Linked DNA regions of Homo sapiens: regions 1, 2, 3, 4, 5 and 7 are each linked to region 6. The links are contacts of gene promoters, found by promoter capture Hi-C in blood cells and fetal thymus (Javierre and others, 2016). All regions are on one chromosome and are shown on one strand. Each heading gives the region's core, a stretch centred on a gene start or on the middle of the fragment in contact. The rest is flanking DNA. Distances are from core to core; before and after follow the strand shown.

The links. The method cuts DNA at HindIII sites, captures the fragments that hold promoters and counts their contacts. A CHiCAGO score of 5 or more calls a contact.
Region 1: a contact is called between a fragment that was not itself captured here and the fragment with the promoter of FOS in region 6, in 1 of 17 cell types (naive B cells). The highest score is 5.1, in naive B cells.
Region 2: a fragment that was not itself captured here is called in contact with the fragment with the promoter of FOS in region 6 in 1 of 17 cell types (naive B cells); the score reaches 5.4 in naive B cells.
Region 3: a contact is called between a fragment that was not itself captured here and the fragment with the promoter of FOS in region 6, in 1 of 17 cell types (activated CD4 T cells). The highest score is 6.9, in activated CD4 T cells.
Region 4: a contact is called between a fragment that was not itself captured here and the fragment with the promoter of FOS in region 6, in 1 of 17 cell types (erythroblasts). The highest score is 6.4, in erythroblasts.
Region 5: a contact is called between a fragment that was not itself captured here and the fragment with the promoter of FOS in region 6, in 1 of 17 cell types (erythroblasts). The highest score is 5.0, in erythroblasts.
Region 7: a fragment that was not itself captured here is called in contact with the fragment with the promoter of FOS in region 6 in 1 of 17 cell types (activated CD4 T cells); the score reaches 11.0 in activated CD4 T cells.

The regions. Positions count from the first base shown.
Region 1 is chr14:74,832,498-74,835,720 of GRCh38, forward strand. YLPM1 (YLP motif containing 1) reads left to right here. Exons shown (of 21, transcript NM_019589.3): 20 at 2,768-2,950. The coding sequence ends at 2,914. Among named protein-coding and RNA genes, the nearest start is that of PROX2, 42 kb to the right of the region's middle. The HindIII fragment of the contact is 5,354 bases long and covers 1-3,223 here.
Region 2 is chr14:74,855,886-74,859,449 of GRCh38, forward strand. It overlaps PROX2 (prospero homeobox 2), which reads right to left. Exons shown (of 6, transcript NM_001243007.2): 4 at 2,522-2,629; 5 at 916-1,110. It overlaps LOC124903348 (a long non-coding RNA gene), which reads left to right and starts at 2,621. Exons shown (of 2, transcript XR_007064269.1): 1 at 2,621-2,881; 2 at 2,948-3,550. The HindIII fragment of the contact is 241 bases long and covers 1,376-1,616 here.
Region 3 is chr14:75,664,072-75,667,391 of GRCh38, forward strand. All of the region lies in intron 2 of TTLL5 (tubulin tyrosine ligase like 5), which reads left to right. Among named protein-coding and RNA genes, the nearest start is that of TTLL5, 4.5 kb to the left of the region's middle. The HindIII fragment of the contact is 1,505 bases long and covers 551-2,055 here.
Region 4 is chr14:74,901,949-74,905,718 of GRCh38, forward strand. It overlaps DLST (dihydrolipoamide S-succinyltransferase), which reads left to right. Exons shown (of 15, transcript NM_001933.5): 15 at 248-1,795. The coding sequence ends at 382. It overlaps RPS6KL1 (ribosomal protein S6 kinase like 1), which reads right to left. Exons shown (of 12, transcript NM_031464.5): 12 at 2,003-3,770. Among named protein-coding and RNA genes, the nearest start is that of RPS6KL1, 19 kb to the right of the region's middle. The HindIII fragment of the contact is 3,036 bases long and covers 75-3,110 here.
Region 5 is chr14:74,883,380-74,886,984 of GRCh38, forward strand. It overlaps DLST (dihydrolipoamide S-succinyltransferase), which reads left to right. Exons shown (of 15, transcript NM_001933.5): 3 at 2,207-2,255. Among named protein-coding and RNA genes, the nearest start is that of DLST, 3.3 kb to the left of the region's middle. The HindIII fragment of the contact is 644 bases long and covers 1,195-1,838 here.
Region 6 is chr14:75,277,346-75,280,939 of GRCh38, forward strand. FOS (Fos proto-oncogene, AP-1 transcription factor subunit) reads left to right here and starts at 1,483. Exons shown (of 4, transcript NM_005252.4): 1 at 1,483-1,778; 2 at 2,532-2,783; 3 at 3,215-3,322; 4 at 3,438-3,594. The coding sequence starts at 1,638. RefSeq lists silencers at 1-156, 885-974, 1,325-1,384 and enhancers at 1,473-2,400, 1,755-1,814, 2,401-3,326, 3,353-3,594. The HindIII fragment of the contact is 6,704 bases long and covers 1-3,594 here.
Region 7 is chr14:75,646,898-75,650,644 of GRCh38, forward strand. FLVCR2 (FLVCR choline and putative heme transporter 2) reads left to right here. Exons shown (of 10, transcript NM_017791.3): 10 at 1-1,270. ERG28 (ergosterol biosynthesis 28 homolog) reads right to left here. Exons shown (of 5, transcript NM_007176.4): 5 at 2,894-3,747. Among named protein-coding and RNA genes, the nearest start is that of ERG28, 12 kb to the right of the region's middle. RefSeq lists an enhancer at 1,449-1,743. The HindIII fragment of the contact is 2,210 bases long and covers 630-2,839 here.

The DNA.
Region 1 (3,223 bases), core at 205-2,704, 440 kb before region 6:
GTCTCACTCTGTTGCCCAGCCTGGAGTGCAGTGGTGATTTTGGCTCACTGCAACCTCTGCCTCCCAGGTTCAAGCCATTCTCATGCCTCAGCCTCCTGAGTAGCTGGGATTACAGGCACCCACCACCACGTCCGGCTAATTTTGTTTGTATTTTTAGTAGAGACGGGGTTTCGCCATGTTGGCCAGGCTGGTCTCAAACTCCTGACCTCAGGTGATCTGTCTGCTGCAGCCTCCCAAAGTGCTGGGATTACAGGCGTGAGCCACTGTGCCTGGCCTAATTCCAATGTTAAAATCTTGAACATTTATTCGCAAACATACTACTCATTTCAAAAACACCTACACATTTTTTCTTCTAATCCTATATTCTTTATTTTATCTGAGTTTAAAACTTAGAATTTAAACTGTAGATTTAAAAGTAGCAAGGTGAGATTGATCAGTATATTTAACTATGTGCTGAGGTTGATAAGTATATTTAACTATGTGCTGAGGATGCCGTGGGAATGGATTTAAATTTGCTGTGGGCTGTTTACTTTTTCTTTATTCAATGAGCCTTACCATATAAGGGGCAAACTGTGGCCACTGAACAAAGAAAAAGTAACCAGCCCACAGCAAATTTAAATCCATTCCCACGGCATCCTGAGCACAGTATTGTGTTTTCACATAAATGCCCAAGACTTAGTTCGTAATGATCTTTCGCTAAAATGTGTATCCTTGATCCAGGTGGAGCTGAGAGAATATACATGAATTAAATTTAATTAATTAATTATTATTGAGGTAGGGTCTCTCTGTCACCCAGGCTGGAGTACAGTGGTGTGATCTTGGCTCACTGCCACTTCTGCCTCCCAGGCTCAAACAATTCTCCCACCTCATCCTCCCTAGTAGCTAGGATTTCAGGCACCCACCACACACCATGCCCAGCTAATTTTTGTATTTTTAGTAGAGACACGGTTTCGCCTTGTTGCCCAGGCTGGTCTTGAACACCTAGGCTGACGTGATCTGCCGGCCTCGGCCTCCCAAAGTGCTGGAGTTATAGGTGTAAGCCACTGTGCCTGGCTGTATATATGAATTAATCAAAATAGGTACTTCAGCATTGATGAGCAGAATGCCCAAAGATTTTTCTATATTGAAGCCCACATTATTTATTAGGCTTCTTACTAAAGCCCATGAAAGACATTGAGCCATAGGTTTTCTATACACTAAAAACCTACTTTCTGGAAAGTCAGATGTTACCAGTTTCTTCCCACTGCTATTACTTTGGCTCCTCCCTTTGACCAGGTGATACTGTTAAAAGCCTAGTTATTTCATTGCTAGTCATGCAAATGGTAATTAGTGTACATTAGAGCAATAATGCATTCCCAGGTTCAGTGTAAAGAGCATGGTGTTTCCATGCTCTGGTTCTCTCTCCTTGTCACAGATAATAAATCACAAGCCATGTTTAAAATACATTCTCTGCAGTCTTTGATACTGTGTAGTGCAAGCAACAGATTCATAGTTTCTTTTTAAGAATCTGAACTTTTACAGAATATGTATATCTCCATATACTTTTAAAAACATATTAACATAATATGTGGCTGGGCATGGTGGCTCATGCTTGTAATCCTAGCACTTTGGGCGGCCAAGGCAGGAGGATTGCTTGAGTCCAGCAGTTTGAGACCAGCCTGGGCAACATAGTGAGACTCTGACTCTAAAAAAAAAAAAAAAAATTACAAAAATTTTTAAAAAGCATAATATGTAAGAATATATATATATTAAAAATCAGAATACCAATAGGAAATATCCCTGATCCATATATTTGTAGTTGTAATCTTGCCATGAATTATATCAGTTGAGTCTGTTTCTTGGTCTCTTTATCTCATGAATGAAAGTAATAATACCAGCTTACTGTTTTCTCTAAGATTAAATTTCAAGAAATATTTTTGTGTAGAGATAAATAAAATTCAGTTATTGATCTAGGGTGTTGATAGTCTGTTAGGGAAGACAGATCTGTAAGTGGATAATTATACTACGGTGTGGAAGTTCAAAAGCAGACATATCAAAATCCGGAAGTTAACTGTGGAAAGCAGTGATTATTTGATTGGCAAAGGAAAAAGGGGTAAGTCAGGGAAGGATGACTAGACTCATGCCAAGTGGATAAGGTTAGGGAAAAGACATTTCAGGAAGAATGACTAGTACATATATGCAGAGTTATAGAGACATGAAATGGTGCGATGCGCTCTGAGTGCTAGAAGGAAGTCTGTATTGTTTGTATAAAATGCCATAGGCACTGGCCAGAGATGTTGCAGGAAAGTGTAGTTGGGGCCAGATCAAGAGGGACCTGAGTTCTTGGACTTTGCCTGGTAGGTAGGGGAAGGAGTTAAAGCAAATGAATCACAACTGTGTGTTTTAGGAAGATCACTCTGGCAGCATGAATCTGGAGCGGGTGAGTACAGACAGGAAGACTAGGTAGAGATTAGTGCTTTGCTTTCAGGTGAAAAAAAAATGAGGTCAGTGAATTATTAAATAAAAAGGAATGGCAGAGGAGAAAGAGAGGACAGGATTGAGCTGAACTGTTCAGGAGCTGGAATGGTTAGGACTTGGATTGTCCAGAGAGTTTTCTCTTTGTGACTTAAAATATATGGCTTTTCCCAGTTTTCCTGGGTTAGTTTTTAATTTTTTAAACTTGCGGTTTCAAATGAGTCATTCTACCCCTTAGACTGTCCAGAGAGGGAGGGGGCTCTTTGCATATTTATTTTTCCTAAAGCTCAGCCTAATGCTATGTTCTTTTTAGGTCAGATGGGCAGACCTGGAAGAGAAGAAGGATGCAGATAGGAAAAGGGCCATAGGTTTTGTGGTCGGACAGACTGATTGGGAGAAGATCACAGATGAAAGTGGTCACCTGGCTGAAAAAGCCCTCAATCGAACCAAATATATATGAGACTTAGTTTTTGAACGGAGTCATTATTCCTCTAAGGTAAGAGTACACAGTCATATAAATAGCCTACTGTGTGGTTGCTTCAAAGGGTTTGAGATAAAGAAGACAGCATATTTTGCTAAAAATGCTCTCTTCTTGTGTTATTTTATAGTTCTGAAAGAGTAAGTATGTACTAGTTGTTAACATTTACAATACTATTAGAAAAGGAAGCCATTTTCTGCAAGCTGGCTCACTTATAAAAATAAAAACCTTGAGAAAAACTTGAATTCTATAGATTTGGGAAGGACTGAAATGATGTTATACTAAGGGCTA
Region 2 (3,564 bases), core at 246-2,745, 420 kb before region 6:
GTGGAAAGATGCAGCAGTGCTGCCTGTCCCATACTGGCCGTGACCCCTTGAGCCTCAGAAAGGGAGACATGGACAATTTTCCCCACAGGTAGTCTTAGCTTTCCAAACATACTCTGACTCACCAGTCAACCAGTGGATGACCACAGTTCTTGTATTTTTTGGAGGTATCAATAAACCACTCTTTGTGATCACAGTCAAGGGAGAAGTCAAGAAGAGGGAAGTGTAATCTGTGACCAGATATACCCGGCACCTGCAGAATCAGATGCCAGCCTAACAGCTGTCAGCTGTGCATGAGGCAACATGCATCTCTTGATTAGGAATGTGCGCCAGTGACACCTAGGCTCACCTTTCACTGACGCTTTACCTCTGAGGTGCCACCAGTGTGCCTTCATAGGGATCCCCGAGGGACTGAGCTTGAGTGTTGTTTATTGTTATTTCCAGAAAGGATTTGAGGTGACTTGCTATGGAAGGCCCACTGATACATTTTCAAGGGAAAATACAGATAAGAATCAAATCATGAAAAGCATAGAAATTGTTGAGAAAACCTAGGCCAAGACTAGGTGCCACAACTGAGCTCAGCATTCAGTCCTGAGCCTCCTGGCACTAAGGCAAAAAGGTCAGGAAGTTATGTAACTTGATAATGACAGGGTATTCAGTCTAAGATGGTGTAACACCTGGCAGCCCTCTCACTAAGCTTCAGAATGAAGACTGGCTGTTGACTCAGTTTGCTGCTTCCACCTGTTGCCCAAGTGAAGATGTTGAGGCTGTAATCTTTGTGGATGATACAGAGATTGGCCCAGGCTGCCCTGGCTCTCAGTAACTTAAGGAGACACAGAAGAGGGATCTTTCCTAAAACTCGAATCATATAGGGAAGACACTCATCAGATCTCATGGGAACCCAGTACATGGTCTTACCTCAAAGTCATTTCCCTTGTTGTAGTGCATATTGAGAGCTTGAAAAAGTTCTGAATTGCGGAGAACCACCAGCATTTTGGGATTTGTGACACCATCTGAAATTGCTTGCCGGGCAGATTTTTCCATTTGGATGTAATAAAACTCACGAAAGTTGCTGAACCACTTGATCATCTGGGAGGTAATGCAGCGGTTGAACTGTACAAACAAGAGGTCCATCCAGTCAGACATTTGCCACGAGGTGCTCAGAATTAGAACTGTCTGCTTCCAGCTCAGTATAGGGGTTCATATACGGCTTTAACCAGCATTAACAGGGGCTTCCTTTAAAAAAAGAAGCGAAGCCACCGCTATTTTCCAAGCCTATTTAGTTATACTCAGAAAAATCTAAATTAGCTACAGTGCCCATTAGAACATAACTTTTTTTTGATATGCTAGATTTATGGGGGTTGTTTTACCCATGAAAAGCTTTTTGTGGTGTTTGAGTGGGACTTAGGGGTCACGACCAGTGTGGTGCCAGATTTTGCTGCACCCAGGTGGACTGCATGGCAGGCCTGGGGCCTTCCACTTGGATAAAGGGCCAAGGGAAGGGCAAGATGTAGGTCAGGGAGCAGTTTATTAGCAACTTTGAATTGTGGAATGAATTGAAATCAAAATCAGAGGTTGCTTCAGGGATCAACCAACCAACTGAATATGAGGGAAAGAAAAGCTTGAATGATGTAGACCAAAAGTATTAACAGCCCCTAACCCAACACCCAAAGTAAAAGAGGCCCTCAGAAACCTTTTATGGGAACAGGGGAGGTCTGGTCCCAACAATTAGTTTGATTTTCCTTATTGTCACACTTCATCTGTATGTACTTTCACTCAGTTTTGAACTATAGCAATTTGAACATAAATTTGACAGTGTCTGACACTCTGTCTCTCTCTCCCTCTCTATATATATTTTTTGTTGTTTGTTTGTTTGTTTTTGTGTGTTTTTTTTTTTTTGAGATGTAGTCTCGCTTTGTCGCCCAGGCTGGAGTGCAGTGGCGTGATCTCTGTTCACTGCAACATCCACCTCCTGGGTTCAAGTGATTCTCCTGCCTCAGCCTCCGAGTAGCTGGGATTACAGGCGCACGCCACCACGCCAGCTAGTTTTTGTATTTTTAGTAGACATGGGGTTTTACCATGTTGGTCAGGCTGGTCTCGAACTCCTGACCTCAGGTCATCTGCCCACCTCGGCCTCCCAAAGTGCTGGGATTAGAGGCATGAGCCACTGTGCCTGGCCTATATTTTATTTTTCATAGTGTCCCCAGCCAAGGCAGAAAACTAGCCAAAAAGGCCACTAACTAGTGTTTCTGTTTCCCTCTACTTTTCCTGCCCATGTGTTTCTGTTTTGGGGATTATCTACAGCTCAGTAGCTTAAGAATTTAGACAGCCAGCCTTTCTAGCCTAAAGTTATTCACGGTTATTTGGGTAGAGTCTCAGCCCAGAACTGGACATTGCTTCCATCAGCAACACTAAGGGGAGCTTGAAGTGCACATATGATGACCTAGGACTTGCCTCACACCAGGCAAAACACACTGCCTCTTGGGAGTTCTGCAGAAGCTGCCATTTAGTTGAGTGACTTTACCTGAACATCAGGAAAATAAACCTTCAGGAGGTTGGAGCTGGGATATCGTGTGAAGAAAAACATTAGTTTGGCCTTCTTCAAGTGACCAGGGTTTAGACCCTCCTGGATTTATCTCAGTGTCAAGGAAAATGAACACTTTAAAATGCCAGTTTATCAATTAACTAGTGAATTCCTTGTTCCTGTGGTTTCTATTTGATTTCATTTTGTTTTTCTGATTGGAATTGTGTATTTGCTCCATTTTTCTGTCTCTGGAAACTCTGGTCAAATAAGCTGGATGACATATGTGCACAGTTAAGTCACAGAATGTAAAAATCATCTCGATGTGGAAAAGTTATGTAGCATAGATGATGTCAAATACAGGTTGGTGTATTTTGTGTGTGTGTGTGTGTGTGTGTGTGTGTGTGGTGTCTTAGATGTCAAATACAGGTTGGTGTATTGTGTGTGTGTGTGTGTGTGTGTGTGTGTGTGTGTGTGTGTGTGGTGTCCAAGTGGGATGGGAAGAGATGGCAATTCTATCCCAGATAAACCATTTCAAAACCCCAAGCAGAGATTTACTTCCCCTCTCTGCCTCAGTTTCCTCAGCTGTAAAACGAGAAGAGTAAACTAGGTGGTCCCCATTCTGGCTGTCACTCTTATCATTGCCTTCACAGTGTTGCCTTTATAACCAGCAAACATCTAAGCAGGCTGAATACCAGCTCATATTTTGCTCTTGCTCAAGAAGCTTGAATGGTTGGGTGGTACCCACTCTCCATTTGCCTGGCAGAACTATCCCTCATCTTTCAGGTCTCAGCTCAGAAGCTCCCACCTCTGTTAAACCCTTCCTTGCCAAATTAGGCCTTCCTTACCCTGGGCTATGAAGACTCTTTGTACAAACTGTTGCAGCGATGACCTTATTGGAATTTTTACTGTATGTTTGTCTCGTCTAGACTGTGAGCTCCTTGAGAGTGAGGACCTTATCTTTTCATCTTTGTGCCTAGCCCAGTGCTAGGAACATAGCAGGTGCTCAATAAATATTTGTTGTGTGAAGGAGTAAGTGAGTGAAC
Region 3 (3,320 bases), core at 53-2,552, 390 kb after region 6:
AAACCTCCATCTCAAAAAAAAAAAAAAGAATGATAATGATAAATATAGCTACTACAGATGACGATAAAGGCTTTATCTCATCTATATCTTATATCTTTTTAAATCTGAAGGTGTTATTATTTTCACTTTTTTAAACTCAGTCTTATCAGGAAATTTCCTCAGTGACCCATAGAGAGTAAGTGATGCATTGAGATTTGGACTTAGCTTTTCTGGATTTTGATCACTTTGCTCTTTTGCCTCCTTTAATTATTGCTTGACACAGAGTAAAGAGAGAATCTGGTTTAAAGGTAAAATTCATTTTTAAGATTCTCCCTGAGTCCTTTTGGATATGTGTGTGCTATGTAACCTGAAAAATAGAGATAATATCTCCCAGGCTATTTTGTAGGGGTCTGGTTAGACTCAAATAGCATAATGTATGTGAAATTACTTTGTAAGTGCTATACAAATGTAAGGCATTATTTTTACTGGTTTTAATATTGAATTTATGGTGGGCTTCTTGTAAGATACAAGATTACTTGTAATTTGAAAAAAATTGTTGAAGCATTAAGAAAGCTTTGAGGAAACGTTTCTTATCACTGTTAGGTCATAGAAACTAATAGAGATTTGAAAGTATATTTGGGTCATTCTTGTTCAGGATAATTAAATGGATAATTCCCTCTGGTTACTTTCCCTTCTTCTGACTTTTTGCTTTCGGTGTGCTGCCTCTTACCCATTTCATAAAACTTTTAACTTCTGCTGCAAGTATCAGTCTTTCCCTTTTTAAAGGTTGTTCTTTTACTCCATTACTGTCTCTCTTATTAGTGGGTTTACAGATTGGGCCTGACAAATGTTAGATTGAACTATATGAAACTGCCATTTTGGTAGGTCAGAAACAGTCAAATACTGACGATTGCAGATAGTTTGACCTAATATTATAGTAGGTACTTAGTAAATTCTTGCTGACTGAATAACGAAATGAAGGAATAAATGAAGGCTTTATACTTTACATTACCTTAGATCAGAGTTGTTAACTTTTTTATGCCATGGATTCCTTACCAGAATAATGTTTTTAAGGCTTAAAATAAAATACATATTATTACAAAGAGTACTAATTACATTCAAATGCAGTTATTAAAACACATTTGTAACATAGTAATATGTGCTGTTTTACTAATACATTAAATAATAAGATCATTTCAAATCTGGGAAAGTTAAATTTTGTTTTCTAAAGACAACAACATGAAGACTGTTTTTGTTTAGTTTGTGTAAGATCAGTACACTGGGAGGGTGGCCTTTGATTAACAATCATAGGTCGGGGGTACTGGGAAGCAGCATAGATGTCTGGGTCACCAGTGTGAGGTGTCATCATTTAGTGACTGAATGATTATTAGGAGGAGAGTTGCCCAATTGTTGTCCAACCTCATCACACTAGCATTTAGATAGAAAGACCATGATCACATGTGATCTAGGGGTGAGTCTTAAACTACTATAACTTAGAAGTAGTGACAAATGTAATACCTGTAATTGGCCAGGTGCAGTGGCTCACGCCTGTAATCCCAGCACTTTGGGAGGCCGAGGTGGGCAGATCACTTGCAGTCAGGAGTTTGAGACCAGCCTGGCCAATATGGTGAAACCCTGTCTCTACTAAAATACAAAAATTAGCCGGGTGTGGTTGTGGGTAATCCCAGCTACTCGGGAGGCTGAGGCAGGTGAATCGCTTGAACCTGGAAGGCAGAGGTTGCAGTGAGCCGAGATTGTGCCACTGTGCTCCAGCCTGGGAGACAGAGTGAGACTCCGTCTCAAACAAAACAAAACAAAAAAACTGCTGTAATTTTAGATAACGTCAAAGGCACAGATAATGCTAATATTACTATGGTTCGTTGCCTATATTCATAATTAAGAAATACTGAATTTCTAGTAAAAGTTAGTGAAAATAAAGGTGTAATTTTCCCTCTGCTCCCATCCAAATTTATGGACCACTTCCTCCTTTTAGACTCCTACTGTTGATTTTTAACTGTTAATCTTGTTTCATCAGCTTATGTCTTGTCTATCAGACACTTATTTTTTACATTAGGAAGCTTAAATCAATCTTGTTCACACCTGAAGCAGCAGGCTTACATTTTAAAAGTTGATTTAGAAGTTTGAAGGCCATAAATCATCGGAAGATGTTGACTTGATCCAAAGATGTATATCCATGGACATCTGTTAGATCTGCTCAGATCCCTAGGCTGTGTTAAAGTATTAATTCCTTGCAATCGTGGACTTCAGGAATAGAAACTATCCAGGCAGTCTTGTTTTGCATGGTATTATTTCAAATAGAAAATGTAAAGAGGCTGTTTTTCTATATTTTGCTTGGGGATCCCAAATACAACTCTGTATGTAGATATAGAAGCTTTCGTAGAAGAACGTGATGTAAGATTTCTTTGGTCACTGAAAAAATGTCAACTTTAATTGCTATTGTAAAAGGCTGGCTTTATATCAGTTAAAAAGATTATTAACAATCAATTATAAAGTGGGTGCTATAGGAGTTCAGAGAAGGAAGTATCGTAATGGGCTGAAGGAGCTGGGGAAGGCTGCCTGAAGGTGGTGAGACTTTAGGTAGGCCTTGGAGAGTGGGCTTAGATAAACAGAAGTGGGGAAGGCATTTCTAATAGGGGTAGTGGTATGAAGACAGCCTAGAAGCAAGAATGCAAAAGCTGCTTACAGCTCCATCTTTGAGTTATGTAGGCTGGGTCCCAGGAGTGAATGATGTCTATTTCTCATGAAATTATTCCCGGAAAACCAAAATGTTTTTAGGCTTTCAATAAAGTGAATCATAAAACTGATCTGCTTCGGTAATTATTCAAATCCTTTGTTTTTCATGCCTATAAAAGTGGATTTTAATATGTACCAGTTTCTGATGTGAATGAGAATATAAAGTCCCAATTTTCAGTTTCCTAATCATTCTGAATTTTTTCCTTTTAGCATCACTTGGTGGGAATATGTTTTTCATGACAACTTCGCATATTCCTTAAGTGCTTTTTTTTTTTAGCTGACCTTACTGTTTACTCTCTCTTTTATCTTTCCATGGGTTGGAAATGAAAAGATTTCTCTGTTAGAGACTTGGCTTTCTACAGATAGTACAGTTAGGGCCTGGGCTCTTCTCAGCTGTGTATCTGTTGATTGTGCTCCCCTTGTCAGGCATTTTAAAATTGGAGCAGCAATCCATTGTTTATAAATGCTAAGGCATAGTGGTGCCAGCTGGTAGCTAGTGCTAGATTGACAGAGAACTTTGGATAGTTTCCAGAGTTCCTGTCTGAGACTTTGTAGTTTAGGCTGCCTGTTTTTTTCTGTACTTGCTG
Region 4 (3,770 bases), core at 343-2,842, 380 kb before region 6:
GAGTATGTTTTTAAAAAATAAAAGGCAGTTGTGAGAAGACAGTTTTCTTGGCAAACTTTGTTTCTGAGTGGGGAAGCTTTGCACTGAGGGTAAGTCCTGGTCTTTGAAATACTGTAAATATGCAGAGGCAACATCAATAGGAAAGGCTCTGGAATTAGGAACTTTCTTATGGGCTGTGCTAAATCTCCTTCAGCGAGGCTGGCTGTGGCTTGCTGGAGACAAACCTATTTACCTTTCCTCTCTGTAGGTAGAGGTGCGGCCCATGATGTACGTGGCACTGACCTATGATCACCGGCTGATTGATGGCAGAGAGGCTGTGACTTTCCTCCGCAAAATCAAGGCAGCGGTAGAGGATCCCAGAGTCCTCCTCCTGGATCTTTAGGAGGAACCCACACACCCTACAAGTTGATCATGCAGGAACTGAAAACCAGTCTTCTCCCTGTCCCCTCATGGGTCCCGGGTTAGCCTGGTGACAGGCAGACACATGCTGTTGGCCTCAAGCAAGGAAGCAGAGCACTGTGTAACCAGCAGTCACAGGTCTTTTCTTGGCGTTCCTGCCAGGCTCTCCCTCTCTGCACCTGTCTCATAGCCTCGAATATCTTAATTCCTTAGGCTTAAGAGAGAGAGCCTTAATGGATGCTCATTCATATTCCTGCCTTTCTTCCATCAGCTCTCTGCAAAGATGATTTTGCTTTTCCCTAGTGCTGGTATACTATAGAGAAACCCCTGGGGACCATGTGATTAAGTTCCTATCTTTTGAAAGTTTGTTCTGCAGAGACTTCTAGGAGGATGCTGTGCCTCCCAAGCTCAGAGCAGCCTCTGTCCTGGCTGTGCACATTCTCCCTTGATTCCACTTGTGTGGAGGGATTGAACACAGGCAAAGAGGTGCTGCTTTGCTTCTTCAATGGCACCTTCATTCTCCGTTGTCATTGACTTCAAGATGCCTCTTCTACCTCTTCCAGGAAGCACAGGCCAGGGGATCTGGGTGTGTGAGTGGGAGGAGAGGGCAGAGGTCCCCTGAGGTCATGCATTGTAATCATCATAGAAGGAGAGCCCAGGCCTGCCCTCACGCTCTCCATCATAGGCTGACACCAAGAAGACTCGTCTTGGCACAATCTCACACAGCTGGGGCTGTAGCAACCCTTTCCAACCCCTTTGCTGGTTGCTGGGCCTCATTCTAGCACCTTGTTCTTAGAGCAGATTCTAGCACATCATGGCAGTGGGACCAAGCGTGGTCCCGAGGAAGGGCCAGAGCCTGGTAGAGACTAGGGAAGGGAGGTCTCCTCTAGACTGACTCACATTGCCTTGAGCTTTTCAGTTAAGTTGCTGTAAGCACCTGGGCTGAGGAGGCAGTTTTTGTTCCTTCCTGCGTTATAGCGGGGCCTTGTCTCTTCCTCTGCAGGACACAGATCTGGAGGACGTGGACTGGGGTAGGAAACCACCCTGAGGGTGTTAGTACCTAGTGGTGAAACGGATGAGGTCATTTCTAAGGTGTGTTGCCCGTGGATCTGGGCACAATCATTGGAATTCCTTGGAGCCACTGGGATTCATGGCTTTGTATCCAACTGCATCCAGGCCTGAGGCTGCTGACGTTTGACACCAGGGCCAGTAGAGAGTGCCCTTTTGTATCTTAAGCCAAGAAGTGAGGCCTGGGGGTGGGGGAGGGGGGAAGGGGTGGGAGCCAATACTGAGTGCCTGCAGCATCTACTACTCTGTCTTCACTATTCAGAACTTGTAACTAAAGTATTTAAAGAAACTGATTTTAAATGCAAATTAAAGGGCAGATATTCTCAAACAGGGTTCCTGTATCTGTTCCTTTTGGCTACTGAGGTGGTACAAGTCCCCAGCACTGTTGCACTGAAATTATTGAAAGCCACTCAAGGTCCTGTTGCTTATTTTGTGAAATCAGAAATCCCTTATGTGGAACTTAACACTCATAATTTGACAGAAGGTAGAACCCTGACTGCCAGCCGGGAAAGTGTTGCCAAAAAGAGTCAACCTCTGTAAAAATATTTGAAGAGATTTATTCTGAGCCAAGTGTGAGTGACTGATGGCCTGTGATACAACTCTTAGGAGATCCTGAGAACATGTGTCCAGGGTCGTCTGGCTACAACTTAGTTTTATACATTTAATACATTTTAGGGAGACATAAGATACCAGTCAGTACATGTAAGATGTACAGTGGTTTGGTCTGGAGAGGCAGGACAGCTCAAGACCTGGGGATGTTGTCATAGGCAGAATCAAAGATTTTCTGATTGGCAATTGGTTGAAAGAGTTATTATCTAAAGACCTGGAATCAATAGAAAGGAATGTCTGGGTTACAGTAAGGGGTTGTGGAGACCAAGGTTTTATGCAGATGAAGCCTCCAGCCAGCAGGCTTCAGAGAAAATAGATTGTAAATGCTTCTCATCAGACTTAAGGAGCCTGTTTTAACAGTAATTCCAAAAGGGAGGGGAGTATAATGAGGAATGGCTGGCTCCCTCTTCCCACCATGGCCCGAACTAGCGTTTCAGGTTAACTTTGGAATACCCTTGACTGAGACGAGGGGTCCATACAGATGGTTGGGGGGCTTAGGATGTTTTTTGTTTTGTTTCCATAAAGCATCATAGTCTCTTAGTGCCCCACCTTCCTTGAGCCTGTCAAGCCATACTCTAGAATAGAGAATTTGGGGTCACCATCTTTGTGAAGCCCTTTCAAAACACCAGTAGACTTGCATTTTTTGTGTGGGCTTACATTATTTCAGTGATGGATTTGGGAGGAGTGGGGGCATCTCATTTCATTTGGATTTGATAGCCTTGTGGACCAAGATGCTCAAGGTCAATACACATGAACAGGTGAGGGTTGATGACCTAGGAGCAGTGGTCAGTGAGCGTGAGTGTACAGGGTGGGTAGCTAACCTAGACTGCAGGTGGCAGGTGTGATGGAGTCCAGGCTTAAACACAGCCTTGTCTTTTCCAGAGTCCCTGTCTGCTGAGCTCTTGCAGTGAGGCCATCCCTCTGTGAAGGTCTGTCACAGGAGGGAAGTGGGTCCCAGAGAGTAGAACTAGAGCTCTAGTAGATAGAAAAACAAATTAGGTTGAATGAAAGGAAGAACAGGATTTGGTGTTAGAAGCTTTAATTTATCTATCTGGTAAACCTGCAAAATAGGCATTATTTACCCCATTTTATCGAAAGGAGGTCGACTGTAAGAGCTGGGACCCACAGTATTCTAAACTCAGGGCCCAACAAAGTGTCAGATGTGTAGCTTTGGGTGGATGAAGCACAGAAGTTCCAGAAGGGACTTGTGCTTCATGAAGCGGTGGTTGGAAGTGGTCCAGCCTGACTTAGGGAGAGTAGCAGAAGGAACACTAACTTGCAACTCTGGCTAGGTTGTGTCCTTAACCTTTTTGAGCTTCAGTTTTCTCAGGAGCTACCGTCTGTTGCAAGGGGTCACTGTGAGGATGAAACTGGTATTCCCCCAGGCACCATGAGCCTCTTCCAAGGCTTCTTCATCCTCTTCCCCACAGAACCTGGTCCTCCCCGACCCCACCCCTTCCCCTGAGGCCCACATGGCATGCTGCTCACCACCAGCCCTGCGTCCTACTTCCTGGCAGCCCCAAGCTCGCTCTTGACTTCACTCTGGAGCTTCTACAGGGGAGCCTTCCAACCTGCCCCAATGAGCCGTGGTCATTGCATGGAAGAAGCGAGAACACCGTAGGCCAGAGCAGGCTTTATTGGGGCCGTGTAAACCCCAGGGAGAGGCAGGACGTGGACCACAGAGAGTCATGTAC
Region 5 (3,605 bases), core at 267-2,766, 390 kb before region 6:
CAAAGACCCTGAGGAAGAAAAGAGGTTGGCAGAACTTAAGAGCTGGAAAAAAGGTGATTTGGCCGGAGTATTTTGGTTAAGGGAGAGAGTGGCAAGAGATAGAAGATGGTATAGAGACTGAAGGAGTTTAGATTTTATCCTAGCAGTTAAAAAGAAAAAAGTGTCATCCATAGCTTTTTTTCTGTTATATGCCTAGCCTAAGTATTTGTTGAATGAGTTGACCTTGTTGTGGGCTTTCTTTGTGCCAAGCATTTATATGAGTGCTTTCTGTGAATTTTTTAGTTAATCATCTCAAAACAGTAAAAAGTATTTTCTCTATTTTACAAATGCATAACCCAAGACAAGAGAGCTTAAAAGCCTTGGCCATGGTCACCCACCCAGCTGTTGATAAGCCAGGTCTACCTGACCCATCCTGAACTCTTAACCCACCATGTTCTCATTTACTCATGGACTCAACAGATCATTTATTGAGTGCTTACTATATGCCAGCCACTGTTCTAGGTAACAGGGGTATAGATAGACTCTAGCCTCGAGATTTTATGGGCTAGCTGGAGAGAGAGAGCAAATATACATTTATGCTCCGACAAGGGCATAAATTTTGGTTACTACGAGAGAGGAATTAAAGGGTGTGATGAGAGGGTGGGATGATGTAGACCAGCTTGGGAAGGTTGGGAATGTCAGTAAAGGCTTCCCTGAAGAAGTGACATTTAACTGAGACCTGAATATAAAAGAGCCAAGAAAATGTATTCCAGGCAAAGGGAATTGCTTGTGCAAAGGTTTTCAGACAGGAAAGGACTTGACCAGTGATAGACATGGGAAGAAGCCTGTCTGGCAGGAAAGATAGAGTGGGCTGGACGGTACAGGATCGCGTAAAGTGTGGACTTTATCCTGAGAGTTATGAGAACATAAAGCCCCTAGCACAATGTCGGCTTGTAGTGGACTCTCAATAACAAACATGTTTTTCAAGTGGGAACCCTGAACAATGTCAGTAAACATTTTCTCCACTTCATAGGTGGGCAGGACAATGGAAAGAGCCTTGCACTTGGGGATTTGCATTTGGGCTCAGGGATTCACCTTGGGCTAGTCGCTTAACCTCCAAAAGTCCTACTTATATGAAATGGGAATAATGGCAGATGGTCGTTCCACTTCAGAGAGTTGTGAGACTGTAAAATCAAAATGAGGTCATTATGGGAAAGCTTTTTATAAACCCTAAAGCACTGTACAAATGAAATTTGCTGTAGGATGAACTCTGAATTGGACTCCAGGTTCCCAAAATCAGTGTGAGCCGCCATCTATTCTAGTTCAAAAACATACTATGCTTAGAATTTGCACTGCATAGTCATTGGCTGCTGGACATAAAGGTGACTGGCTTACCTATCTTGGGATGCTTGTGAGGAGGTGGGCATAAGAGAGGGCTAGCTCTCATTTGGTGTGTCCTGAGCCCATGGTTCAGAAAGAGTTGTTAATCTGAAAGAAAAAAGACATAAGAAAGAATTCAGAAGAGGCAGCTGTAGTTACTAGTCATCAGTTGGGGAAATGCAGTTAACTATGATAAGGACAGCTGGTGGGCAGAAAGGGTCTCTCACCTTGTTGAGAGTGACCAGGGTGGAAGACTTCAGAAAGGCATGGGAAGTCAATAAACTGAAAGATGGGGACATGATTTTCTCAGCTCTAGGACAAACTGGAGACCCCGAGCCTAAAGTAGCCAAGTCTTTGCTACTAGGATTCAGGTGATAAGATTTCCAACCCAATCTTTTCAAACCCAGACCAAACATCCTCCTTGCTTCTCAAATTGGGTTATGTATAGTCACAGGATAAGCCATCCCATGTCTTTCTCAAGCTTCAGTTGTATTTGAAGACTTGGCGAGTAGAGACATTTTATTATGAAAACATACAGGAATAATGAAAAGTTCTGGCTTTTTAAGGTAGATGAGATTATATAATCACTTTGGGCTGTGCCATCAAATTTTTTCTCTTTCCTCCCCAGCCAAACACATACCCACTCGATCTCACATACCCATTTGCTCTCTGCCACTAAGGCTACTTTGGAAAAGTTTGAGAAGCAGGACTCTATGATAAAGATTATATCCGTTGCCGTTGATCCTGCTCTGTCTCAGGGTTGGGGGTGAGCAGACCTTTTCCATTCCCAGCATGTATCCTTTGTGAGATAAGAGTTGTTGGTTAAGAGTTATTTTGTTTCTTGCAGGGGTCTCCTTATGCCAGGGACCAGGTTACCCTAACAGCAGGAAGGTTGTGTAAGTATCACTGGGGAGTACAGATATGTGGCCACGGGTTATTTATTTAAAGACATAAAGTTCTAAATTTGACCATCTGATTTCTTCACTGGCCTCCAGACCTAGAAATTGAGGTGATTATGTTGAGTCCCTAGACTAACCTCAATGTTCACTTTTCCCATGTGATGTTCCTTGAGCATCAGCTCCGTGTCAGGTTTTGGACTGGGAGTGTGCCCACTCTCCACAGGTGTTTGGATTATAATGAAAGTTAAGTTGGAATCCTCTTTTTATGGGATATAGAAGGGTGCTCCTAGATATTCTGTTTGGATGTAAGTGCAGCTGAAAGGCTCGAGGTTACATTTATTGTGGAGATTGAGAGCATCCTCTCAGTAGCATAGTTACTCATTTTTAAAAACAGTAAAAGCATAAAACTGGTTGAGTCCTGGGACTGACTGACTAGTTTGGAGGGAATGCTGTTATTGCATAATGCAGAGTTTGGAGAAAGGCTACCCATGTGTGTTTCAGATTAACTTCTGCGTATGAATGTTGCTTAAATGCTGCTTTGCATTCCAAGTGTTTTTGTGGTGGTGCTAAGAGAATGCTCTCTAGTAACCTGTTCAGCAGCTGTCAGGCTGCTTACTCTACAGGGAGAATCCTCAAAGTGAAGAGGTCAGCGGATGAGCTTCTTACTTACTCTACATCACAATGAGGGTTTTTGTTGTTGTTGTTTTGAGACAGGATCTTGCTCTGCCACTTTGGCTGGAGTGCGGTAGCCTGATCTTGGCTCACTGCATCCTCAGCCTCCTGGGCTCAAGAGATCCTTTCACCTCAGCCTCCTGAGTAGCTGAGACTACAGGCACATGCCACCATGCCCGGTTGTTTTTTGTATTTTTTGTAGAGATGGGGTTGTTTTGCCATGATACCTGGGCTGGTGTCAAACTCCTGGGCTCAAGCAATCCATCCACTTGCCTTAGCCTCCCAAAGTGGAGGATACAGGCGTGAGCTATGGTGCCTGGCTGATTTTTTAAAATTTGAGTAAATGTTGCACTCAGTACTAGAAATATGAATCCCGGTGTTATTTTGGAGGGCAGTTTGATAGTCATAAGTCTTTGAAGTGTGTGTACCTTTTCTTTTTTTCTTTTTTTCAAGATGGAGTCTTGCTCTGTCACCCAGGCTGGAGTGCAGTGGCGCGATCTCGGCTCACTGCAGCCTCTGCCTCTCGGGTTCCAGCAATTCTCCTGCCTCAGCCTCCTGGGTAGCTGGGATTACAGGCGCACGCTACCACACCTGGCTGATTTTTGTATTAGTAGAGACGGGGTTTCATCTTGTTGGCCAGGCTGGTCTCTGAAACTCCTGACATCAGGTGATCCG
Region 6 (3,594 bases), core at 233-2,732:
GGCCTCATCCTGCCTCGCCCCTCTCCAGGTGCCCACCGCGGGCCCCGACCCCCGGGCCCGAAGAGTGGAGAAGGGAAGACCGGGGCTGTGCGGGGACATGCGTCTTCGCGCCCTGGAGGTGGCCAGCGCGCTGGGGCTGAGCCCCGGCAGCGTGACCCCGGCTGTCCTACGCAGCAGGGCAGGAGATTGGGGGGCGTGGCACACTCTGGAGCACCTTGCCTCCCCAAAGCCCCGTGTTCCAGGACGTGGAGCCGCTCCTGGGGTCCCAGCAGTCGAGGTATTCCGCCCAGGCGCAGCTGGACACTGTCCTTCCAGCCCCCGTCCTCCACCCTCCAAGTCCGCGCTGGAAAATCACCCGCTGCGGGCTCCCGTAAGCACAGCTTCCTGGCGGGACCGAACCAGCCCTCAGCGCAGATTTGAGTTCCCCGCAGGAAGCACACCCCGCCTTGTCATCCCGAACTGACCACCCTGCCCACATAACCACACCTCGCACTCCCTACCCCTGGGGCCCAGCTCAGAACCGGGCAGACACCCCCTTCAAATGTCTTCGCACGTAGGTTTTGCACAGTGTTTATCTGCTGGTGTCTCAGGGATTTGACAGTTTCCTTAATATTCCCACACATGGCCGAGAAAAATAAATAAATAAATGCGCTGTCTTCTTTAAAAAAATAAATAAATAAAGTACCCAGTATCGTAAAGTAGGTTATCGTATTCTCTTATTTTGGATCCTCCACTTTCTGCTTCCAAACGCAGGAACAGTGCTAGTATTGCTCGAGCCCGAGGGCTGGAGGTTAGGGGATGAAGGTCTGCTTCCACGCTTTGCACTGAATTAGGGCTAGAATTGGGGATGGGGGTAGGGGCGCATTCCTTCGGGAGCCGAGGCTTAAGTCCTCGGGGTCCTGTACTCGATGCCGTTTCTCCTATCTCTGAGCCTCAGAACTGTCTTCAGTTTCCGTACAAGGGTAAAAAGGCGCTCTCTGCCCCATCCCCCCCGACCTCGGGAACAAGGGTCCGCATTGAACCAGGTGCGAATGTTCTCTCTCATTCTGCGCCGTTCCCGCCTCCCCTCCCCCAGCCGCGGCCCCCGCCTCCCCCCGCACTGCACCCTCGGTGTTGGCTGCAGCCCGCGAGCAGTTCCCGTCAATCCCTCCCCCCTTACACAGGATGTCCATATTAGGACATCTGCGTCAGCAGGTTTCCACGGCCTTTCCCTGTAGCCCTGGGGGGAGCCATCCCCGAAACCCCTCATCTTGGGGGGCCCACGAGACCTCTGAGACAGGAACTGCGAAATGCTCACGAGATTAGGACACGCGCCAAGGCGGGGGCAGGGAGCTGCGAGCGCTGGGGACGCAGCCGGGCGGCCGCAGAAGCGCCCAGGCCCGCGCGCCACCCCTCTGGCGCCACCGTGGTTGAGCCCGTGACGTTTACACTCATTCATAAAACGCTTGTTATAAAAGCAGTGGCTGCGGCGCCTCGTACTCCAACCGCATCTGCAGCGAGCATCTGAGAAGCCAAGACTGAGCCGGCGGCCGCGGCGCAGCGAACGAGCAGTGACCGTGCTCCTACCCAGCTCTGCTCCACAGCGCCCACCTGTCTCCGCCCCTCGGCCCCTCGCCCGGCTTTGCCTAACCGCCACGATGATGTTCTCGGGCTTCAACGCAGACTACGAGGCGTCATCCTCCCGCTGCAGCAGCGCGTCCCCGGCCGGGGATAGCCTCTCTTACTACCACTCACCCGCAGACTCCTTCTCCAGCATGGGCTCGCCTGTCAACGCGCAGGTAAGGCTGGCTTCCCGTCGCCGCGGGGCCGGGGGCTTGGGGTCGCGGAGGAGGAGACACCGGGCGGGACGCTCCAGTAGATGAGTAGGGGGCTCCCTTGTGCCTGGAGGGAGGCTGCCGTGGCCGGAGCGGTGCCGGCTCGGGGGCTCGGGACTTGCTCTGAGCGCACGCACGCTTGCCATAGTAAGAATTGGTTCCCCCTTCGGGAGGCAGGTTCGTTCTGAGCAACCTCTGGTCTGCACTCCAGGACGGATCTCTGACATTAGCTGGAGCAGACGTGTCCCAAGCACAAACTCGCTAACTAGAGCCTGGCTTCTCCGGGGAGGTGGCAGAAAGCGGCAATCCCCCCTCCCCCGGCAGCCTGGAGCACGGAGGAGGGATGAGGGAGGAGGGTGCAGCGGGCGGGTGTGTAAGGCAGTTTCATTGATAAAAAGCGAGTTCATTCTGGAGACTCCGGAGCGGCGCCTGCGTCAGCGCAGACGTCAGGGATATTTATAACAAACCCCCTTTCAAGCAAGTGATGCTGAAGGGATAACGGGAACGCAGCGGCAGGATGGAAGAGACAGGCACTGCGCTGCGGAATGCCTGGGAGGAAAAGGGGGAGACCTTTCATCCAGGATGAGGGACATTTAAGATGAAATGTCCGTGGCAGGATCGTTTCTCTTCACTGCTGCATGCGGCACTGGGAACTCGCCCCACCTGTGTCCGGAACCTGCTCGCTCACGTCGGCTTTCCCCTTCTGTTTTGTTCTAGGACTTCTGCACGGACCTGGCCGTCTCCAGTGCCAACTTCATTCCCACGGTCACTGCCATCTCGACCAGTCCGGACCTGCAGTGGCTGGTGCAGCCCGCCCTCGTCTCCTCCGTGGCCCCATCGCAGACCAGAGCCCCTCACCCTTTCGGAGTCCCCGCCCCCTCCGCTGGGGCTTACTCCAGGGCTGGCGTTGTGAAGACCATGACAGGAGGCCGAGCGCAGAGCATTGGCAGGAGGGGCAAGGTGGAACAGGTGAGGAACTCTAGCGTACTCTTCCTGGGAATGTGGGGGCTGGGTGGGAAGCAGCCCCGGAGATGCAGGAGCCCAGTACAGAGGATGAAGCCACTGATGGGGCTGGCTGCACATCCGTAACTGGGAGCCCTGGCTCCAAGCCCATTCCATCCCAACTCAGACTCTGAGTCTCACCCTAAGAAGTACTCTCATAGTTTCTTCCCTAAGTTTCTTACCGCATGCTTTCAGACTGGGCTCTTCTTTGTTCTCTTGCTGAGGATCTTATTTTAAATGCAAGTCACACCTAGTCTGCAACTGCAGGTCAGAAATGGTTTCACAGTGGGGTGCCAGGAAGCAGGGAAGCTGCAGGAGCCAGTTCTACTGGGGTGGGTGAATGGAGGTGATGGCAGACACTTTTACTGAATGTCGGTCTTTTTTTGTGATTATTCTAGTTATCTCCAGAAGAAGAAGAGAAAAGGAGAATCCGAAGGGAAAGGAATAAGATGGCTGCAGCCAAATGCCGCAACCGGAGGAGGGAGCTGACTGATACACTCCAAGCGGTAGGTACTCTGTGGGTTGCTCCTTTTTAAAACTTAAGGGGAAAGTTGGAGATTGAGCATAAGGGCCCTTGAGTAAGACTGTGTCTTATGCTTTCCTTTATCCCTCTGTATACAGGAGACAGACCAACTAGAAGATGAGAAGTCTGCTTTGCAGACCGAGATTGCCAACCTGCTGAAGGAGAAGGAAAAACTAGAGTTCATCCTGGCAGCTCACCGACCTGCCTGCAAGATCCCTGATGACCTGGGCTTCCCAGAAGAGATGTCTGTGGCTT
Region 7 (3,747 bases), core at 485-2,984, 370 kb after region 6:
TCTAATAAGTGGCAAGCTGCTCTGCCGGGGTCATCTCCTGGGTCATCGGACTGATTGCTCAAGTTCTGCAGGAGAGGAAGCACCATTAGAACAACTCCATCAGAACAGCTCCACCGGGACTTGTGGGCCTAAATTTTCCTGGCCTAACGGGTCTGTCTCCAAACCCTCTTTCCTAAGAGCTGAGCAAACCAACCATAATAAACTTGACAAAAGACTTTGTTGTGGCCATGACAGAGATACCGACTCAGGAGGGCTACCTACCTAGGTGTGATCATGCTGGGGGCTACCTTCTGAGTATATTTGTGAAAGCACATATTTGGGAACTCTGGTAGCTTGAGTTGGGAATGGGAAGGTTCTTTTTTACAGAAGTACTTCCCCAGGGACTTCTGTGTGTCACAGTCACCTCTGATGCCTTTATCTTGATGTTGCATTGGGAATCTCAGCCATCAGCCCAAGTGCTTGTTTTATTCCAAGGCAGGGTAATCCCCGTCAACTTACTCTAACCTTTGCTGAAAACTAATCTTGATTCATTCTACTCTGAAAATCCAAAGGTGCTTCTGAGAGATAAGAGGGAAGGGGTAGAAGGAAAGGTGCCCCTTGAAATGGGAATTGAGCCTGTTAGAATTAAAAGCTTATCTCACCTCTGCTGGGGACAGTATTTGCACCACCAACCCCTCTCCTCACCTGCTTTGAGCGATAATCTTTATCAGATATTCTAAACTTAAAGGGATTCCCTTTAAACCAACTCAAGCTGATCTTTCCTATCTAGCCTGCTGTTTGGCTGTACTCATGGGCTTTGGTAATATCTCCTAAAAATGAGGTTTTGGTAATTTTTCCTATGCATTGGGCAACTGTGATCGTGACCACTGTGCTGTCTTGCTCCAGCCACTGCCCTGGCCTCAGCATATCAGGGCAGCCTGTGCTGGCTGCAATACTGTGGTGCTTGGGCCACTGCCTGAGAGGAGCCAGGTTTGTGTGTGTCTGCATGTGTGTGTGTGTGTGTTTGTACAGATTCAAGCAATGGATGCAAGGAACATGCTGTATGTAATAGAAGAAAGAAGTCCACGTTTTCGGCAGAAGTAGTGAGTCAGTGTGGAAGAGAGGTGAGGGTGTGCTTTACTTTTTGATAAAGAGAAAGATGTTTACTCATAAACCCTTCAAAAGGTATTAACAAAATGTTTACCAAACCTATTGCTTTATTTTAAAAACATAATTTGTGTTTTCTATTTGTAAGATCTGACATTTCGAGGCAATAAAAACTTCTCAGAAAGTGGTCTGCCTTATCATTCAGTGGGGCAGAGATGGCTCTTAGAAGTCCCTGCAAGACTGTCACACATTCCTGAGGCTCCTGTCTTAGGTGTGGGGAAGGGCTGGGCTGGGGCGGGGGAGTGTGAGGCTAGAGAAGCAGCAACTGTGGTCTTCCACAGGAGCATCTCACTGTTGCCAGACCTTACCATCTGGGAGGGATATTTTTTAAAGACAAGGCTGTAAAGGTTACTGTTTGCCTACATGGAGGGACTGCAACTCAACATCCAGCACGACCCTGACCTCTTTCCATGCTGTGTACGCGCTGGAATGTGAGTGACTGCTGATGAGAGAGTCCACTGTTGTTTCTGGCTCTGCCTCAAAGGGTGGTTGAAATGTTTGTTCTCTGATTACCTCAGCCATGCATCAGCTTGCTGTGGCTGGGGCCCATGGCTCAGTCCCAGCAGCTGCAGTCTTGCGTTACCATTTTTCTTCCTAACTGGCCAACGTCCTGTTACTCATCCCTCCCCAGTTGTGATCACCTTGTGCGTGTTACTTGAATATGCTGCTACTATCATCTGTGTTCTGTACATTCTTTCCATAGAGAGTTGTACTGTGCCTGTGGTATTCTAGCATCATATTTATAGCAACTCGTAGCTGGGGAGGAACAATATTATGATTCTATTTTAAATGATCTAGGAAGGGACCCAAGCCTGGGCTGTTAAGAAATCTAATATCCATAGTGTCTGCTAAATACTCTAACTGTACATCTCTTTAGATCCTTTGGGTCCCTGCCTTTACTAATCTGGAATCACTTTTTTTTTTTTTTTTTTTTTTGAGATGGTGTCTTTTTCTGTCGCCAGGCTGGAGTGCAATGGCGCAATCTCGGCTCACTGCAACCTCCGCCTTCCTGGTTCAAGCAATTCTCCTGTCTCAGCCTCCCAAGTAGCTGGGACTACAGGCACACGCCACCATGCCCAGCTAATTTTTGTACTTTTAGTAGAGACGGGGTTTCACCATGTTGGCCAGGATGGTCTCGATCTTTTGACCTCATGATCTGCCCGTGTCAGCCTCCCAAAAGTGCTGGGATTACAGGCGTGAGCCACCACACCCGGCCAGGGCATCACATTTTCATGACACATGCTCAGAGGACCTAAATCATCCAATGTTTTCATTCACTCCTTTCATAAGGTCTTCATGTGGATCTGTGTTCAAACATTAACTGTCATCACTGCTTTTTTACTGCCTCCTAACAATATAGCTGACAAGTAAAGAAAAGATAGTTCTTACCATTGAGATATTTTTCTAGATACAGTGTTCTGGGCATATGAGGCCTGGAATTTCTGCAACCAACTTTGGTACCATAAAAGAAGTCAGCCTGAGGATGCCAGCACACATAGGTAGTGCTGAAAGAATCGTAAAGAAATGGAGCTGGAGTCTTGATCAAACCCTTCCTGAAGCTAATCTTGTAATTTTTCAGTTATATGAGCCAGCTATCTTTATTGTTTAAGCTAGTTTAAGGTAGGTTTTGTCCTTTCACCTAAAGAGACTTAACTGATAAGAGAATTCCCAATGTATTTAAGTGTAAACATCAAGCTTCTTATCACACCCTTATAAGCCCCTTGCCTCCTTTTCTGACCTTTTCTTTCACTTCCTAACTCTTCACCATGCTGTGATTACATAGTTCTTATTCCTTGAATAAGACTATTCTACCTTCCAGTTGCTGCTCCCTCCTTTCTAACGGCCTGCTCCATATCTTAAGACATTTAACTCCTGGGCATTCAAGTCTCAGCTCAAATCCCACCTCTTAGCCTGGACAACATAGTAAGACCCCATCTCTTCCCACCCCCAAAAATGTTAGCTGGATGTGGTGGTACACACTTGTAGTCCCAGCTACTTGGGAAGCTGATGCAGGAGGATCACTTGAGCCCAGGAAGTTGAGGCTGCAGTGAGGTGTGATTGTGCCACTGCACTCCAGCCTGGGTGACAGAGTGAAACCCTGTCTCTAAAAAACAAAAAAATCCCATCTCCTCAGGGAGGACTTTCTGATGATCTAATTTAAGTTACGTTCCCCACTGCCCACCCCACATTCCTTCTTGACCAAAATACCTTGTGTTTGTTAGAGTTCTTATCCCTATTTGAAGTTCTTTATTTTTGTGTTGGCTTGTTGATTCTGTTACCTTGACTATAATATAAGGCCCACAGGGCAGGGGCATTGCCTGTGTCGTTCATTTCTCTTTCCCAAGTGTCCGGCATGGAGAAGTACTCAACAAATATTTGCTGAAATAGCAATGGCCTTTTGGATACACACACTGTGTATGAGGGTCCAGCTGGGGGAGGCCCTCTGGGTAGGGTTTAAGAGCAACTGTCCATTCCAGTGCATTCTCCTCGGGGTTTAGTTGTCTTCTTCCCATGTCATGCAGTTGTTTCATCTATGCTGCCTAGTTCTATTTTTTTGTCTCTGCTCTCTCAAGAATCTGTTTCTTCTTTAGGAGGAAATAA